2 separate regions of the Homo sapiens genome follow, and region 2 is linked to region 1. The links are contacts of gene promoters, found by promoter capture Hi-C in human tissues and cell types (Jung and others, 2019). All regions are on one chromosome and are shown on one strand. Each heading gives the region's core, a stretch centred on a gene start or on the middle of the fragment in contact. The rest is flanking DNA. Distances are from core to core; before and after follow the strand shown.

The links. The method cuts DNA at HindIII sites, captures the fragments that hold promoters and counts their contacts. A contact is called where the count stands out against the background at its distance.
Region 2: a fragment that was not itself captured here is called in contact with the fragment with the promoter of ZSWIM1 in region 1 in 1 of the 25 tissues and cell types used here (liver).

Annotation. Positions count from the first base shown.
Region 1 is chr20:45,879,089-45,883,020 of GRCh38, forward strand. ZSWIM1 (zinc finger SWIM-type containing 1) reads left to right here and starts at 2,139. Exons shown (of 2, transcript NM_080603.5): 1 at 2,139-2,173; 2 at 3,445-3,932. The coding sequence starts at 3,505. ZSWIM3 (zinc finger SWIM-type containing 3) reads left to right here. Exons shown (of 2, transcript NM_080752.4): 2 at 1-34. RefSeq lists enhancers at 1,849-1,898, 2,149-2,228. The HindIII fragment of the contact is 12,007 bases long and covers 1-3,932 here.
Region 2 is chr20:46,392,270-46,395,830 of GRCh38, forward strand. ELMO2 (engulfment and cell motility 2) reads right to left here. Exons shown (of 22, transcript NM_133171.5): 3 at 2,136-2,263; 4 at 1,780-1,820; 5 at 1,260-1,332; 6 at 824-874. The coding sequence starts at 2,213. LOC124904917 (a long non-coding RNA gene) reads left to right here. Exons shown (of 3, transcript XR_007067614.1): 3 at 972-3,561. Among named protein-coding and RNA genes, the nearest start is that of ELMO2, 13 kb to the right of the region's middle. RefSeq lists an enhancer at 1,965-2,464. The HindIII fragment of the contact is 3,871 bases long and covers 1-3,561 here.

The DNA of each region.
Region 1 (3,932 bases), core at 889-3,388:
TATTCATATTAAAGTTGTTTTTAATAAAATTAAACAAGGGAAATGTGTTCTGCTTGATCAGGGAAGGAAGAGGAATTGCATAGCAATAGGACTCGACTTTACAGTTAGGAAGTGGCTGCTCTAGGTGGATTTATTAATTTTAAAGAAAATTGAGGCCAGGCGCAGTGGCTCACACTCATAATCCCAGCACTTTGGGATGTCGAGGCGGGTGGATGGATCATCTGAGGTCAGGAGTTCGAGACCAGCCTGGCCAACATGGCGAAACCCTGTTCTACTAAAAATACAAACATTAGCCAGGCGTGGTGGCGCACCTGTAATCCCAGCTTCTTGGGAGGCTGAGGCAGGAGAATCGCTTGAACCCAGGAGGCGGAGGTTGCAGTGAGCCTAGATCGTGCCACCGCACTCCAGCCTGGGTGACAGAGTGAGACTCTATCTCAAGCAAAAAACAACAACAAAAAAAAAAGAAAAGAAAATTAAGTATTAGCAACCTAATGGGGTTGTGGAGCCAAATAGAACCTGATGCCTCACATTCAAGGATTTGGCAATCTGCGTCTTAATTTGCCTCCTTCCTACAACTAAGCCTTCAAGGTTGATTTCAGGTTTCCTTATATTCTAGCGGGAAGAGGCCAAATAGACTGGAGGGTGTGGGGGAAAAACCTGAATCTTAGACTTGACTGCCAGCAACTTGCTGGGGAACTGTGGGCAATTTCTTTGACCTCAGTTTCCTCTGTAAAAATTAGCATGTTGGCCTGTTCTAATCCCAGATTTCCCCTCTAGGTTTACATAAGCACCTTTTTGTTTTTTGTTTTGAGATGGAGTTTCGCTCTTGTTGCTTGTTGCCCAGGCTAGAGTGCAATGGCAGAATCTCGGCTCACTGCAACCTCTGCCTACTGGGTTCAAGCGATTCTGCCTCAGCCTCTTGAGTAGCTGGGATTATAAGCATGTGCCACCACGCCTGCCTAATTTTTTGTATTTAGAGATGGGGTTTCACCATGTTGGTCGGGCTGGTCTTGAACTCCCGATCTCAGGCAATCCACCTGCCTCAGCCTCTCAAAGTGCTGGGATTAAAGGGATGACCTACTGCACCCAGCCCAATAACATTTTCGATGCGTAAGTACCAACACTGATTTGATGTTGCTAGTTGGTAATCTTAATCCTCCAAGGCCTGGTAAACACCCAGTTTTCTAAGTCTGCCATCTTCAAGGGAACTGAGGACAAGAGACCAGTTAGTAGGCCCTTGCACTACTGTAGTAGGACCCTAAATAAGTCATGGCATCATTCTGTAGAATACTGGAGGGGGTTGGGCTAGAGAATGCCAAGTTTTGGCTTGTTTAAGGGGATCTGGATTTCCTCAGCTCTAAAAGTTGGGCTCCTGATCCCCGAAGGAGGAGTAGAATTTGAGACCTGGAACTCAGTTTCCCCATAAGGTAGAATATGCGTTATGACTATATATGCACTGTTTCCTAAATTCCAGGGGCTTTAGAGTTTCACACACACACACACAACAAAACAAAACCCGCGGTGGCTCACGCCTGTAATCCCAGCACTTTGGGAGGCTGAGGTGGGCGAATCACGAGGCCAGGAGTTCGAGACCAGCCTGGCCAACAGGGTGAAACCCCGTCTCTACTAAAAATACAAAAAATTAACTGGGCGTGGTGGCGGGTGCCTGTAATCCCAGCTACTCAGGAGGCTGAGGCAGGAGAATCATCGCTTGAACCTGGGAGGCGGAGGTTGCTGTGAGTCGAGATCTTGCCACTGCACTCCATCCCAGGCGACAGTGCGAGACTCCATCTCAAAAAAAGAAAAAGAAAAAATATATATATAACTGCTATTTATTTTCCTTTTCATTTTCTGCTTTTGAGGGAGTTTCCATAGTAACGTGTCCTTCCAGTCGCCTAGCCTGAAGGGAAGCCCCGGAGCTCCAGCTTCAAGGCTCAGCTCTCCCAGATGCAAGTATCTTTACCTCCAGCCAGCTCCTTGTAACCCTGGCAACACGGCCCGCCCGCGAATCGTCACGCTACGATTGGTCCGTGGTGCTAAAGCCTGAAAGCGAATTCCTCAGACATTGGTCCGAGTCACTGCGATGCTGACGCTGTGGTTGGTGAGTTTGGATGTCAGTCAGAGTCGGAGGCAGGGTCAAATAGGGAGAAATGGCGACGGAGCCTGGCTGTGGGTGAGTGCTTCCTGAAGGGGTGAAAGTGTGAGACAGCGGATCACCGCAGTTAGCCGTCACACAGCTCCCAAAGGGATGGGAGGGAGGTTTTCTTCTCATCCGGCTCCAGCTGGACTCTGGGAATGTCAGACATCCACATCTCCCACCCAGGTTAGAGGTGAGAGGTCAAAGGCCGTATTCCCTCTGTTGGTTTTTGGACCCCAGGTACTGTGGACAGCAGTCAGGATCCCGAACCAAAGACTCAACTTTCAGCTACTTACAGAGTAATGGTGGGCAAGTCACTTAGCTTCTTTGAGCCTTAGTTTATCATCTGTAAAATGAGGACAGTAACTCGGTCTGGGGCCAAATAGAGGAAACAATGGAATAGAGTATTGCTGCTAAAAGAGGGATATAGTAGAGGCAGGAGAAGCTATGCACATTTGTTAGCCATATTTTATGGTGGAAGGGATTGAGGCTCAGAGAGGGTCATTGACTTGCCCAAGATAACACAGCAAGTTTGGAGCAATTGCAGTTCTCTTATACATACCAGGACCAAAGGAAAGAATGGATGCCAATCAGTCATTTATAAATATAAAATCGTATTTTTATTTTATTTTATTTTTTGAGACAGAGTTTCACTCTGTCACCCAGAGCTGGAGTGCAGTGGCGCAATCTCGGCTCACTGCAACCTCAGCCTCCTGGGTTCAAGCAGGTCTCCTGCCTCAGCCTCCCGAGTAGCTGAGACTACAGGCATGGGCCACCATACCCGGCTAATTCTTTTTGTATTTTTAGTAGAGACGGGTTTTCACCATGTTGGCCAGGCTGGTCTCGAACTCCCAACCTCAAGTTATCTGCCCACCTTGGCCTCCCAAAGTACTGGGATTACAGGTGTGAGCCACTGCACCTGGCTAGAATGCTATTTTTTTAAAAGGCCATATGCAGCTCTGGCCATACCTATTTAAATCCCCTGGAACCATATCTTTCCATAGCTAACTTCTTATCATTTAGATTTCAGCTCCAATGTCATCCTTCTCCCCTGAGAGGCCTTCCATTACCACTTTAACTAAAGTATCCCTCCCTTCCCCAGCTTACTCTCTGACATGTTACTCAGGTTTATGGTCTTTGTAAGCTTCATTATTGGATATATATTTGCTTATTTGTTTACATGTTTATTGTGTATCTTCCCCTAGAACAGTGCTGACATATAGTAAGTGTTCAACAAATATTGTGTGGATGAATAATTGAAGAGCCAGGTCCCTGCTGTCTCCTTAAACCTCTGTTACTCTCCATAGGCCCATCTTTGGAAAAAAGATCTGGGAATGATTGTCTAGCCTCCAGCCTCAACTTACTTGATGCTTGAGAGACTCAAAGCCCCGTGGTCAGCTGCCCTGCAAAGAAAGTATTTTGACCTTGGCATTTGGACAGCTCCCATCTCTCCCATGGCCCTGACAATGCTGAATGGGCTCCTGATTAAGGACTCAAGCCCACCTATGCTGCTGCACCAGGTTAACAAGACTGCCCAGTTAGATACCTTCAACTACCAGAGCTGCTTTATGCAAAGTGTCTTTGACCATTTCCCTGAGATCTTATTTATCCACCGGACCTATAACCCAAGGGGTAAGGTCTTATATACCTTCCTGGTGGATGGACCTCGGGTGCAGCTGGAGGGTCATCTTGCCCGAGCAGTCTACTTTGCCATCCCTGCCAAGGAGGACACTGAAGGCCTGGCCCAGATGTTCCAAGTATTCAAGAAGTTTAATCCAGCATGGGAGAGAGTCTG
Region 2 (3,561 bases), core at 568-3,067, 510 kb after region 1:
CTTGCACAAATCAGGGTCATCCTCCATTCTCCCCTTTCCTTCCACATCTAGCATATCACCATACTCATAAAGCTTACCTCCTAGATACTCTTCATATCCATCCTTTCATCTCCATTACCACTTGCCTTCACTGGGCTGTTAACATTCCTTATTAGCCTCTTCAAAGGTTCCTACTACCACCAACCTTCTTCTTAAGGCCCATCTTCCACATGGTCACTAAAGTGATCTTTCTAAAACTTAAAATCTAAACATAACATATCTTCCTGCTTAAAATTCTTCAATGTCCCCAGTTTCCTTCTGGACAGAGTTGAAACCTACGAGTAGGCCATCAAGGAACCTTGAATATCTGGCTTCTCAATGACTGCTACAAGCCTCCAGCCACCCAGCACTCCTGCTTTTCCCAAACACAGCATACCTCTGTGCCTTGGCATATGCTGATTTCTCTGACTGGAATACTTTTCCTTTTCTTATTTCTCTAGCTAATTCTTGCTCATCCTTTAACATCTGAGCTAAGTGACGCCTTCTCTGGCAAGACTTTCTGGAAATCTCCAGGCTGAGTTAGGTGGTCCCCTTTGTGAGTTCCCACAGCTCCCTAAGCAACTTTCTCTCAAGACCCTTGAGACAGGCCTTCTATTGCATTTGTTTACTCCCCACTAGGTGGTGAGAACCAAGACAGACTTATTTTCCTGTACTATTTCCTGATACAAAAAGACTGACTTTCTTATCTCCAGAGTACTTATTTCTAGAACAGAGTCTGGCCCATGGTAGGTGCTCATATTTGTTTGTGACATGAATAAACTCCTAAGGAAGAAAGAATACCTACCGGGGAGATAGCCAGTTGTAAGATTGTCCCATTCTTAATGTCACTGCGAGTCTGGGTAGTGAAAAATAAACAAAAAAAGTAACTAAGATAAAATGTTAAAGTGGTACAAGCAAGTTGAATCAACAATAATGTTTTGTCTTTTTTACAGTAGATGTAACTGAGGATCTTCAGTCGGGCCCTCTTCTCCTGCTTATTCCTTGGCAAAGAATTTCTAAGATCCTCCTCTAGCACCCTGGGCACTCAGGAAGTAAAAGCCACCTTTTTCTAGCCACTAGGGAAGAACAAGGGCTGGTGTTTCCCAGTCTGTCCGGAGAGTGACTCTTTACCCAACACATGGAAGCTACCTGGATGCTGAGTGAAGATAAATAGTGCCGTCTCCTTGGGTCGTTTAATTCCAAGCAAGGCCCATATTGATTTTGCCTCTCCCTGTACTAACCTGTTCGGTGATGTACAGCTGAGGACCATCTGCATAACGGAGGGTATAATACTCTGGGTTTGGCAACGACCACCTATGCAAGAGAAAAACAGTATATCCCACTTGGCCACTCTCTTGTTCAGAAGCTGCTCATAAGTAATTTTCAAAAGAGTTGCTCAAGGGATTGGGTGGCCTATTTGGAATACAGTGGAAACAAAGCTTTAGGTTGTCATGTTGAAAAAATCATGGCCTCAGCCTTTTGTAAAGATGAGCACCACAATAGGAGGTGTGCAGAACTGAGGAGGGGTCTCAGATCCTACCTCAATAGGGCAATGCTAGACTTTAAGGAAAAAATTAAGAAGTATAAACGTCTTAGGGGTATGGTTGTCAACTGTACTTCCTTCCCAAGACAATGATTCCCAAGACCCCCATGCTGAGGACCTGCCTAACTGGAGATCCTTCCCAGAACTCCCCTCAAGGTGTAGGAGTGCTCTTTCAGTCGGAGCTGCCACTGTTGAAAACGAGGTCCATTTCAACCTACCCATCACAAACTTCCTTGATAATGGATGCCAGGGGCCGTTTCTGAAAGAGAGAGAGAGAAAGCCTTCAACAGCAGCAACATCCTACTCATGCCAAGGTTCTGACAAGAGGCCTGCCAAGCAGGGTCAAGCTGGGGCATGAGAATGAACTTCTTTCCTAACAGCTTTTGTTGAAGAGGAAGCCTCTCCCAAGCCATGGTGACCGACCTTCCCTAGGGTGGGCCAGGCCCAAAGCTTAGCCTTCCTGTTGCTCGTTCTTACTCTTGATGCCGGTGGTCCCCATCCCTCAAGATGTCCTCTGCCATGCACTCCCCAGGTGCCTTTCCTTGAACCACTGCTTCTCACTTCAGGAGCATACCTGGTCGATTTCAAGGAGCTGGGCGTTAGCACCTGGCCACTCAATGGCCACTTTGACAATGTCTGACGGTGGTGGCATCGTTCCCAATGGGCTCTAATTCTGCGAGACAAAAACACAGACACGGCTGCCTGGGGAGAAAGAATCAGAAAGGTGGAAAAAGAGTATTTCTTCATTTTTCACTCTTGTTACATGTTTTGAAGAGTTTGAAGACAGACACTGCATAAAGTAACACATGAAACTACCTGGTTTGAATTTTTCTAGATCATACCACAACTTCTGCTTAGGATTTTGTCTCTTGAGATTAAATCAGCAAGAAGAAATGGGACAAACTATCTATCATCCATAGATCAGCCAGTAGCAAGATATGCCAATGTGGCACTTCAGTTTAAGAGTCAAGAAGACTCAGTGGTAGAGGAATGTATTTACTGCAAATTCCTGTCTTGAGACCTTGGGAGGAGAGAAGCATATGCTCCGAGACAGATAAGAATAGACAGCCTTTTCTTGGTTGAGTGGTTAGCTGGAGGAGCCAGGCTACTTCTTTCTGCAGTCATCCTAGGAAGATCCCAGCATCAGCAGGGCCCAGCTACATGCTCTCTTGCTTCCTCCCCACTCATCGATGCCACCCCTTTCCCCTCAAAGGACACAATGCAAAGCCTCCTCTGTGTGGGACGACATCAGAAAATGGGGAAGATAACTGGGACAGGAAATGCTATTTTCGTCCCTACTGCCAAGGGCAAGGGCGGCTGACAACTCAAGTGGAGAGAGGTAAGGATATCCTCACACAAGGGCCCCTCTTATAAGGACAAGGCTTTGCAAGTACCTCTGACCCCCTCCCCCACTTCTCTCCAAAATAAAGGAAAATAAATCATCCTGAGCAAGTCTGGAAGATGGGCCCATGTGACTGGTATCCTAGGCAACTCTGATAGCTTACTGGTATTCCAAGCAGTAACTAAAGCATTCTCTCTCCAAGGTCTGACGAAGGGAAGTCACTTGGCTGATGGATTATTTCAATGTATATTTACACTCCTTGCCTACAAGTTCAGGAGAGGCCCCTCTCTTAATGAAAAAGACCTTTCTGCATCCTCCAGGTTTAGCCATTCACCCACAATTCATGCCTCGCTAATGGGGACCACCTGCCTCTCCTGGCGTACAAAGCATAGCTGTCGCGAGGCTATTATGCATGTATGCTATCAATTTTTCAGCCCAAACACAGATGTCAGTTCTCACAGCCTGGTAAGTATAAACCTCTTAGATGAAAAGGAGTAAAAGTCCTGTCCCCCACAAGCCCATCGGCCTCAGAAAGAGGGATGCTTTCATGACCATTTCCTAGTCAGAATGGGATGCTTCAGAAGTCTACTGTCATAAAAAGCCAGCATTTCCAGAACATGACAATGTAAAGGAACTAGTTTTCCAAGTGCTTTCACTT